Linked DNA regions of Homo sapiens: all the other regions are linked to region 3. The links are contacts of gene promoters, found by promoter capture Hi-C in human tissues and cell types (Jung and others, 2019). All regions are on one chromosome and are shown on one strand. Each heading gives the region's core, a stretch centred on a gene start or on the middle of the fragment in contact. The rest is flanking DNA. Distances are from core to core; before and after follow the strand shown. Region 1 overlaps TMCC2 (transmembrane and coiled-coil domain family 2). Region 2 has its middle 4.6 kb from the start of KLHDC8A. Region 3 holds the start of NUAK2 (NUAK family kinase 2).

Evidence for each region. The method cuts DNA at HindIII sites, captures the fragments that hold promoters and counts their contacts. A contact is called where the count stands out against the background at its distance.
Region 1: a fragment that was not itself captured here is called in contact with the fragment with the promoter of NUAK2 in region 3 in 2 of the 25 tissues and cell types used here (hippocampus and neural progenitor cells).
Region 2: a fragment that was not itself captured here is called in contact with the fragment with the promoter of NUAK2 in region 3 in 2 of the 25 tissues and cell types used here (neural progenitor cells and ovary).

The regions. Positions count from the first base shown.
Region 1 is chr1:205,262,708-205,266,216 of GRCh38, reverse strand. The region is part of intron 2 of TMCC2 (transmembrane and coiled-coil domain family 2); the gene reads right to left. Among named protein-coding and RNA genes, the nearest start is that of TMCC2-AS1, 27 kb to the right of the region's middle. RefSeq lists an enhancer at 2,255-2,952. The HindIII fragment of the contact is 8,685 bases long and covers 1-3,509 here.
Region 2 is chr1:205,359,822-205,363,283 of GRCh38, reverse strand. No RefSeq gene overlaps it. Among named protein-coding and RNA genes, the nearest start is that of KLHDC8A, 4.6 kb to the right of the region's middle. The HindIII fragment of the contact is 3,306 bases long and covers 1-3,190 here.
Region 3 is chr1:205,320,083-205,323,828 of GRCh38, reverse strand. It overlaps NUAK2 (NUAK family kinase 2), which reads left to right and starts at 2,084. Exons shown (of 7, transcript NM_030952.3): 1 at 2,084-2,431. The coding sequence starts at 2,201. RefSeq lists a silencer at 2,398-2,577. The HindIII fragment of the contact is 16,843 bases long and covers 1-3,746 here.

The DNA of each region.
Region 1 (3,509 bases), core at 456-2,955, 57 kb after region 3:
CAGGCTGCAGTGCAGTGGCGCAATCTTGGCTCACTGCAAGCTCCGCCTCCGGGGTTCACGCCATTCTCCTGCCTCGGCCTCCCGAGTAGCTGGGACTACAGGCGCCTGCCACCATGCCCGGCTAATTTTTTGTATTTTTAGTAGAGATGGGGTTTCACCGTGTTAGCCAGGATGGTCGCGATCTCCTGACCTCATGATCCGCCCGCCTCAGCCTCCCAAAGTGCTGGGATTACAGGCTTGAGCCACCACGCCCAGCCCAGAACCTGTCTCTCTTATAAAGCTGCTGCCCTTTCCACAGATGCCCAGCTCTCTTTCACTGTCTTCTTGGGAGAAAGAATATCTAGAAAATGGGTTCTGGGGCCAGGTGCAGTGCCTCATGCCTGTAATCCCAGCACTTTGGGAGGCTGAGGCGGGTGGATCATGAGGTCAGGGGTTCGAGACCAGCCTAACCAACATGGTGAAACCCTGTCTCTACTAAAAATACAAAAATTAGCTGGGCGTGGTGGCGGACGCCTGTAATCCCAGCTACTGAGGAGGCTGAGGCAGGAGAATTTCTTGAACTGGGAGGCAGAGGTTGCAGTGAGCCGAGATCACGCCACTGCACACCAGCCTGGGCGACAGAGCGAGACTCCGTCTCAAAAAAAAAAAAAAAAGAAAAGAAAATGGGTTCTGAGTCTGGCTGCATCACTGCCATTTGCTCATCTTTGTAACAGGGACAGAGTCTGTCCCAACTACTTAGGGGGAGAGTGGGAGGAGCTAATAAGAAATGGATGTGAAATGCTGTGAAAAGCAAAAGTGTTTTAGGACTATACAGGAGTGTAAAATAGCAAAGTCTCCACCTGCCGTGGCTCCTTCCTAGCAGCTTGGCTCTCTCCTCCCTTGATTTGGCATCTTTCTGGCTTACAAATGGAAAAGCGGAGTTGAAGCTGGCTGTGAAATCCCCATTAATGAGAGGAGAAGAAACACTCCTGGGAAAAACAGCTGGGGCCTGATGGTGGGTGCAGAGGCCTGGGCTGAAGCCCTGGCCCCCTCGTCCACCCCTCTTCTCTACCCTAGGACCCAGACTTGAGCCTAACAGTCCTGCAGCAGGACACCAGCTCCTTCCGTCCCTCCACAGAGGCCTGGACACCTCCTTGGTGACATGAAGGTCTGCAATGCCTGGATTGAGCGGGTCAGTCTCCAGTCACAGAACATATCCCCATTTTATTCTCTTCCCTGTGGAGGACTCAGTTCCACTGGCTTCCAGAAAGGTGGCATATTTTCCCTATGGCCTCTGGGCTCTTCTCTTTTTCTCAAATTCTAAATGTTTTGGACAAAGGATAAGGATAACAATTATAGTTAGCCTTCTGTATCTGAGAATTCCACATCCATGGATTCAACCAACCATGGATTAAAATAATAATAATACAAATTTTAAAATACAGGGGCCAGGCGCAGTGGCTCACACCTGTAATCCCAGCACTTTGGGAGGCCAAGGCGGGCGGATCACCTGAGGTTAGGAGTTGGAGACCAGCCTGGCCAACATGGTGAAACCCTGTCTCTACTAACAATACAAAAATTAGCTGGGTGTGGGATGTGGTGGCGGGCACCCGTAGTCCCAGCTACTCGGGAGGCTGAGGCGGGAGAATGGCGCGAACCTGGGAGGCGGAGCTTGCAGTGAACCGAGATCACGCCACTGCACTGCAGCCTGGGCAACAGAGCGAGACTCCGTCCCAAAAAAAAAAAACAAAATTAACTGAGTGTGGTGGCATGTTCCGGTTGTTCCAGCTACTCAGGAGGCTGAGGCAGAAGAATCACTTGAACCTGGGAGGCGGAAGTTGCAGTGAGCCAAGACTGCACCACTGCACTCCAGCCTGGGTGACAGAGACTCCGTCTCAAAAACAAAAACAAAAAACAAAAAACAAGAAACAACAGTGTCACACTATTTTCTATTTTCATAGTATTTACATTGTACTAGGTATTGTACGTAATCTAGAGATGATTTAAAGGGAGGATGTGTGCAGGTTCTATGCAAATACTACACTATTTACTGTATGAGACTTAAGCAATCTGGAACTTTGGTATCTGCAGGGGGTCTTGGAACCAATCTCCTTCAAACACTAACATTTCTTGACATACGTCAGACTTGTCTCTCAGTGTTTACACCTATTAATTCATTTAATCCCAGTATTAACCTCACAAGATGGGTAGCACTATTATTTCCATTTTACAGGAGAGAAAACCAAGGCCTACAGATGTAACTTGCCCAGGACTACACCACTAGTAAGTAAAGAACCTAGAATATAAATCCTGTCTGGCTCCAAAACTCAGGGCCTAACCTCACCTTGGAGGGCTGGGTAGCTCTGACAGATCCACAGCTTAAGACACCTTTGGCTGGGAGAGCTGGCCCTCTGCCACCTTTTTAGGAAGCAAGAGTCTAATCAGTGGTTATCAACCACAGCCCAGCCTCACTCCACAGCGATGAAACTGGAATTTCATATAGCTAAGACTGCAGGCTTTTTTTGTTTTTTGTTGAGTCAGAATCACTCTGCTGCCCAGGCTGGAGTGCTGGAGTGCTGGAGTGCAGTAAGGTAATCATGGTTCACTGCAGCCTTGACCTCCCCAGGCTCAAATCCTCCCACCTCAGCCTCCCCAGTAGCAGGGACTACAGGTACATGCCACCACACCTGGCTAATTTGTGTATTTTTTTGTAGAGAAAGGGTTTTGCCATGTTGCCCAGGCTGGTCTCAAACTCCTGGGCTTAAGCAATCCTCTTGCCTTGGCCTCCTAAAGTGCTGGGATTACAGGCCTGAGCCAAGCTGCACTCGGCCAGACTGTGGGTTTTTACACCCTGAGAGAGCAAGGAAAAAGAAAGGAGTTCTCCCCAGCCCCGTCCTGCCTTCTCCATATCTGAGGGCGTGCAAATCCTTAGAAAGGTCCAAATATTGGCCATAGCATTTAAAATCACCTCTGAAGACATCACGGTGGCATCTCCAGCCTTCCTCACTGGAGGTAACCCTTAATCTCACTGGTCTCCATGCAGACTCCACTTGCCCACCCAGCCCCGTCTCGTGCTTAGGGGTGTGTGTGTGTGTACCTGCATGCATGTGGGCAAACCTCAGAACAAGAGAGAGAAGAGGTTTGTGTGTGTTGCGGGAGGCGGTGGGGGGTGCTTGAGGGAACACTCTGTGGGAGATACCAAGATCCTGTTTGTGGTTTTTGCATTCGAGGCTGGAACACCTCGGCAACCACTTCCATCTGAATTAACTCCCTTCAATAACTCCCCCTGCCAACCAGAGACTTTTACTACGGACTCACCACGAGATCCTAGTTGAGACTGAGCTCATTCCTGCTTGTAGCCTGGAGCCCAACCTCAGGAAAGCATCTAAGAGCTTCTCCCCACCACCAGCCTCCTCCTTAGATCCTGCAGTCCCCAACTCCACCCATCAGGGATGCAAAGAAGGACACGGGGATGTAGGCAGAGTTTGCCTGGAGCCCCAGCCTGCACTGAGACACTCCTCAAATCAAGA
Region 2 (3,462 bases), core at 288-2,787, 40 kb before region 3:
CCTCTCAACAGTCCTGTGAAATAGGTACTATAATAATCCGATTTTACAGATGAAGAAACTGAGACTCAGAAAGTTGATTTATTCAGGGTCAAGCAGAGAACTAGGATATGAACCCATATCTATCTGATGCTCAAGGCTTTGCTCTTTAAAAAGAAACACAGCTTTGTCGAGAAATAATTCACACACCACACAATTCAGCCATTTAAAATGTACAATTCAATGGCTTTTGCCAAATGGATTTGTGCAACCCTCACCACAATCAATTTTAGAACATTTTATCAGCCCTAAAAGAAATCCTGTCAACTGATGAATAGATAAATAAAACATGGAATATTCATACAATGAAATATTGTTAGGCAAAAAAGAAAGTACTGATACATGCTACAACGTATCTATTTTTTCCTTTTGTTGCTTGCGCTTTCCTGTCATATCTAAGAAAACATTGCCTACTCCAAGGTCATTAAGATTTATGCTTATGTTTTCTCCGGAGAGTTGTATAGTTTTAGCTCTTACATTTAGGTCTTTGAAGCTCTTTCTCGAAACCACTATGCTTTACTGTTTTGTGTGTGCATAAAGACACAAATACAGTCATAACCCATGGATGAGAGAGAAGCATGAAACGCCTGAGTAATTGGCATTTGGGGTTATCTCTGGATTTTAATGATCTGTTTTTCTCCTGCTCCAACTATGCTTGTAATTAAGAGTCAAATCACTTGATCATGTCCTGAATATATTCTAAAATCTCGCTTTGCAAAAACATCTTACATTCCCATTTCCATGACCCTAATTTAGGTCCTCATCTTCTCACCAGTAGGCTATTTTGATAATCTTCTAAGTAGGCCAAGTTCTTCTCTGATGAAATGCACCTCCCTTTATTGAAATCAATTGCTTGTTAATTTATTCATAAGCTTCACTAAGAGAGGAACTATACATTTCTTTTTCACCATCATGCCCCTGGTGTTTAGCATTGTGTCTGGCACATAGTGGGTGCCCCACAAATAATCACAAAGGAAGACTATGTGATCTCCTTATCATGAAACTCTTCTCCTGGACTAAACACTGTTTATGCTGCTGCCAGATTAATATTCCAAACACTGCTCTGATCACTTCACTTCTTGGCTCAAAAACTTTCAAGGTCTCTCTACTGCCTTCTGAGAAGCGCCGCTCTTTTTTTTTTTTTTTTTTTAAGAGACATGGTCTCACTCTATCTCCCAGGTTAGAATGCAATGATGTGTGATCATAGCTCACTGCAGCCTTGAACTCCTGGGCTCAAGTGATCCTCTTGCCTCAGCCTCCTGAGCAGCTAGGACTACACGCACATTTAACTGTCCCTGGCTAATTTTTTTTGATAGAGATTGGGGGTGGGAGGTGTTGCAGGTGTCTCACTATGGTGCCCAGGCTTGTCTAAAACTCCTGGCTTCAAGCATTTTCCTGCCTCAGTCTCCCAAGAGCTGGGATTACAGGTGTCAACCACTGTGCCTAGTCCTCTGACATGACATCCAAGCAAGGGCTGCCATTCCCAGTTCCTTTCAGAACTCACAAGGCAACTTTGGAGTTGGGCAGGCTGCAGGAAACTCCAAGTATGAGAGTGGTCATTTGCTCTTGTCATGAGGTTGCCAGATTCAGGAAATAAAAATGTTGGGCCGGGCGTGGTGGCTCATGCTTGTAATCCCAGCACTTTGGAAGGCTGAGGTGGGAGGTTCAATCGAGTCCAGGAGTTCAAGACCAGCCTGGGCAACAAAGTGAGATCCCAACTCTACCAAAAACAAAGAGAAATTTCTAGGAATAATAGACGGGGTAAAAAATAGACAGTGGGTAAAAGATACTCACTTAAATCTTAATTTTAAACAACAAATCGTTTTTTGGGATATCCTAAATATTCAGATTTAACTGGGCATCCTCTGTTGTATCTGGTAGCCCTACAGTTAGTCTCAACCACATTCCAGTCTGCAACATCGATGCACTGTATCTTCTTGGAATGCCCCCGACTCATTTTGACCCAAATCTGACACCTCTTCAAAGGCCCTGCTCAAAGACCCTCTCTCCCACAAGGTCTTCTCTGGCATCCTCTGATAGTTATGATTACTTCTTCCTCTCCACTCCCAAAGCGCAAAGAGCAGACCCATTGTGTGTCCCGTAACACATGCTTCCTTCCACTCTGCAGAGGCTAGCCTTGTGTCTTAACCCTGCCTGAGCCTGGAAGCTTCCTGAGCACCAGACCAATGTGCTCTGCCAGCTCATGCTGCGTACTCAGGAGGTGCCATTAGCTGGTTGTTAAATGAATATGTAAGACTCGATTGTCCTAAATCAGAACTACTTTCTATTTTTATTTTCACAGTGGACTTTTCTCCCTAAAGTTCTAGGATCAGTGGGACATGGGCATCACAGGCAAATTACGTGGCTTCTAAGAGACTGAATCTGAAATCTTCTAATTTAGGAGAAAGGAAGGAAATGTGAATCTTTTTCTTCTCTGAACAAGGAAATAAGAATTTGTTAAAAAAAAAAAGATTGAGCATTGACAATTACTGATTACAAAATAAAATAATATTATAGTTTTAAATAAAAACATCTCCATGTGAACAAACTTCGCTTTGTATTTTAGTATCTGTTTGAGTAGGTTTGTACTGCAAAGCGGAAAAATGAAATCTCCCAGGCACCATTTGCCAAGGGATTTGCTCCCCTTCTTTGTCTGTTCAGATTAATCCGAGAGTGGCTGAGAGCTGCCCATTTTATCTCTGGGTTGAGGCAAAAGGGAGCAGTGTTTTCCAAAATAGCCCATGAGATGGCTGGACTCCCTCAGACAGGATTTGGGGGAGGACAAAGGAACCATGTGGGCATTTTATGTAGAGTATCTGGACCGGGTGCCCTGTCATTTGGAAGGCATCTGTTCCTGCCATTTGCACATCTTCCGGTAATCCTCCATTGATCGCCACCCCGCGTTCCTTCCTGCCCACTTGTGCCGGCCCTCCCCGCAGTGCCCTCTGACGTGAGGCCCTTCTTTCACTGCTCTAATTCAATGGCTTCTAATTGGATGCTCTGCCTGGCTAATGGCTTCTACCCAACTGCAGGGCTGACATTTACTTATTTGATTTCCACCCCTCCCTCTGCTCTCTGGCCTCCTTTGTGAGCAGAGCTTAAATTAGGCAGGATTTTAGATCCAGCACCTTTTTATATTTTGGTGTGGGCCTCTTGTTTTTTGAGCTGGGAGGGGTGGCTGAGTAGAGAAGAGCCTTGGAAATATACGCTGAGCTGATCAATCCTGAACCCTGCAGATAAACCCAGCTTTGTGACTTATCTGTGTCCCAGAATCCCAGCTGCCTCTGGGCTGCTTTCTTTGTTTGCATTTTAACCTGGACCCTAGCCTGCTAATTTCGGCTGGAACAAACTTTATTCTGTCACTGAATATCAGACCAATGCCAAAAGAGTCGTTGTTTGTTTTCATCACTGGAAAGGTTCTGGGCT
Region 3 (3,746 bases), core at 835-3,334:
TCTGGATGAGCCCCCAGGAATAGAAGCAGATTTCAGAGGGGAAAGGAGATAGCAAGTCAAGGCAACTATCTCTGGGCCTCATCCTATTTGCACAGAAAACCCACAGCAAAAGGGGAGGCTGGTGGAGGGAAGAATGCCAAACCAGCTGCCACCTCCTGTGGCCCTCCAAATTTGGGAGCGATACATTGGTTTCCTGTGTAAGATGGATCCTCTCCAGTCACAAAGGAGATAAAGAGCTCCATGGAGGGATGGAGACATCTGTAACTCACACTAGAAAAATAATCAAAGGATCAGTGGAAGTAGAAAAGTGGGCAGCCACTGGGGGTGGGTCCTTCTCCATCCTCAGCATGCCCTGGATACACAGGGGAGGCACCATCCTCCTGAAGGCCTGAGGGGAAGGCTGGCTCTCCAGCATAGCTAGAATCCATCCAGGGCCCTAAACTGGCTGGCAGAAGGGGTTTCCCTCAGGGAAGAGGATCCAGGTCTATTGTCCTCTATTCTCTTCCTCAGGACCAGGGTCTAAATCCCGCCACTTTATTACCAGTTGTGTGGCCTTGGACAGAATAATACTCATTTCACAGGATTAGGTTATCAAGATGGCCAAAGGGGAAATGTTCCCTTTCTGCCATTTAAAGCAAGAAGGAAAACCTATGGCCATTCTCATTTCACTGTAAATGAGCACTCAGAGTGGAGATTCTGGACCTAGCAACTCCAGGCCTCAAAAACTAAGTCAAGCTGGGCGCAGTGGCTCACGCTTGTAATCCCAGTACTTTGGGAGGCCGAGGCGGGCGGATCACGAGGTCAGGAGATCAAGACCATGGTGAAACCCTGTCTCTACTAAAAATACAAAAAATTAGCCGGGCGTGGTGGCGGGCGCCTGTAGTCCCAGCTACTCGGAGAGGCTGAGGCAGGAGAATGGCGTGAACCCGGGAGGCGGAGCTTGCAGTGAGCAGAGATCGCACCACTGCACTCCAGCCTGGGCGACAGAGGGAGACTCCGTCTCAAGTCAAACCTCATAACCTACCACCAGTGCTCCTGGCACCAAAATCACAAGAAAACCTTGGGTGGAGCAACCATTTTCAGACTTAGGGACACAGGTTAGATAGTCGGCATGTAAAAATGTTAAATAAATATGTATCCCTTCGGGTTCTCTCCACCTCCAGCCGACACATCCTAAATAAATTCCACTAAGTGGTTGAGGGAATCTACTAAACCTTAGAAGCCCTCTTTTTTTTTGAAACGGAGCCTCACTTTGTTGCCCAGGCTGGAGTGCAGTGGCGCCATCTTGATTCACTGAAACCTCTGCCTCCTGGGTTCAAGCGATTCTTCTGCCTCAGCCTCCAGAGTAGCTGGGATTACAAGCGCGCACCACCACGCCCGGCTAATTTTGTATCTTTAGTGGAGATGGGATTTCGTCATGTTGGCTAGGTTGGTCTTGAACTCCTGGACCTCAAGCGATTCGCCTAAGAAGCCCTCTTTGAGGAAGAAGGAAGAAGTTTCCAGGGCCATTGGATTCCAATATCCAAGTAAGGTTGATCTAACTGAAGACAAGTGAACTCGAACCATAGGACAGCTCTGCACTAACCCTCCCACTAGGCTGGATTCTGCCTCTGTTCCATCCCAGCTCCCTTTCTCCTTTATGGACTCAATGAAGTGGTCAAGCAATTATAGATTTTGGCTTGGGACAAGCAAATTACTCAGGATGAAGAAATACTTTGGTGACCTTTAGTGCCCTCAGATCGCCCCTTGCCAACTGAGAACAGAGTACAATAAAACAACAGGGCATTAAGCAGGACCAAGCGCCACTCAGAGGCAAGTGCAGCTCCAAGGGCCCTCAGAGTAAGCTTCTGGGCCTCAGGCGGCCTTCGCTGGAATCCCCTAGTCCCCATTCCTGGTGGGCGGGTTCCATTGACACCTTTCCCGGCCACGCCGAGGGGGAGGAGGCGGGGCCTGGAGCCCCGGAGAGCCAATGTGGACGGCCGTGGTCACGCGCCGCCGTCGAGCAGGCCAATGGGCGCCGGGGGGCGTGTCCAGGGCCTCGGGCTCAGGGCGTTTATAACAACTTGGAATGCTGTGCTTTACTGCGCGCTCTGGTACTGCTGTGGCTCCCCGTCCTGGTGCGGGACCTGTGCCCCGCGCTTCAGCCCTCCCCGCACAGCCTACTGATTCCCCTGCCGCCCTTGCTCACCTCCTGCTCGCCATGGAGTCGCTGGTTTTCGCGCGGCGCTCCGGCCCCACTCCCTCGGCCGCAGAGCTAGCCCGGCCGCTGGCGGAAGGGCTGATCAAGTCGCCCAAGCCCCTAATGAAGAAGCAGGCGGTGAAGCGGCACCACCACAAGCACAACCTGCGGCACCGCTACGAGTTCCTGGAGACCCTGGGCAAAGGCACCTACGGGAAGGTGAAGAAGGCGCGGGAGAGCTCGGGGCGCCTGGTGAGTGCGGCTCCCTCTCGCGGCGCGGGGCGGGCTCCGGCTTGGCCGCCGGCAGGGAGCGGAGGAGGGCGGGCGGCGGCTCGCTCGTTGCTCGGCGGAGAGGCCAGCGTGGTCTTTACCGCGCTGAGCTTGCGGGGCTACTGCGGGGTGTCCCTGGCAGATGTGTCAGTCCGTGATTGCAGGGACAGTGGTCGCAAACTTGCGAACCCCAGCCAGCAACACCGTACTGCTGTGATGATTGCCAAATAAAAGGGAGGCTATGGATAGTTGGCGCGGAAAAACGAATCGTGTCGTGTCCTGGGATAAGATGGATGGGACTTAAGTTGAGTTTTGCTGGGAAAAGACTGTTCAATAGAGTGCAATGGAAAGAGGAAGTAGAAGGCACCCCATCTTAATAGGTATTTGGTAAATATGTGTGTGGTTGAATGAATGGATGAGGTGTGGATTTCCCCAACTCCAAGAATCTGGCAACCCAGCACACTGGAGCTCTGGCACGGGGTGGGTTTTGACATTTAGGTCCTTTCCAGCTCTAAAATTTAGTTGAAATTTCATTATGATGAGTTTTTGATTCTGGAAAATGTGAAACCAGGTCCACTGTACCAGAGACACCTTTCGGTTTGGGGGCCTTTTCAAGAACATGCCCTGTTACTTTGGTGCGAGCGTAGGAGTCTAGCAGTCTGTGTGACCTTGGGCAATTTCCTTCATCTCTGTACTTTGTTTCCCCTTTTGCAGAACTGTAGAAAACACAGCCTGCCTCACAAGCTGCTGTGAGGATTGAATAAGATCGAAATATGAACTTATATTGCTCCTAACACATAGAACTTGCGGTGAGATAGCCGGGCGCGGTGGCTCACGCCTGTAATCCCAGCACTGTGGGAGGCCGAGGCGGGCGGATCGTGAGGTCAGGAGATCGAGACCATCCTGGCTAACACAGTGAAACCCCGTCTCTACTAAAAATACAAAAAATTAGCCGGGCGTGGTGGCGGACGCCTGTAGTCCCAGCTACTCGGGAGGCTGAGGCAGGAGAATGGCCTGAACCCAGGAGGCGGAGCTTGCAGTGAGCCGAGATCGTGCCACTGCACTCCAGCCTGGGCAACAGAGCGAGACTCCGTCTCAAAAACAAAACAAAACAAAACAAAACGAAACAAACAAAAAAAGAACTTGCAGTGAGAATTTCTGGAAAGGGCAGCCCAGAAAGGATGGCAAATTTGTCAAAAGTTAGTTAGCAGTGGTTAACTGGTTCTCAAACTTGAGTTTAAAGTACGTAAGGATCACCTGGGATGTTTGTTTAAAATACTTACATTCTCTGGTTCCA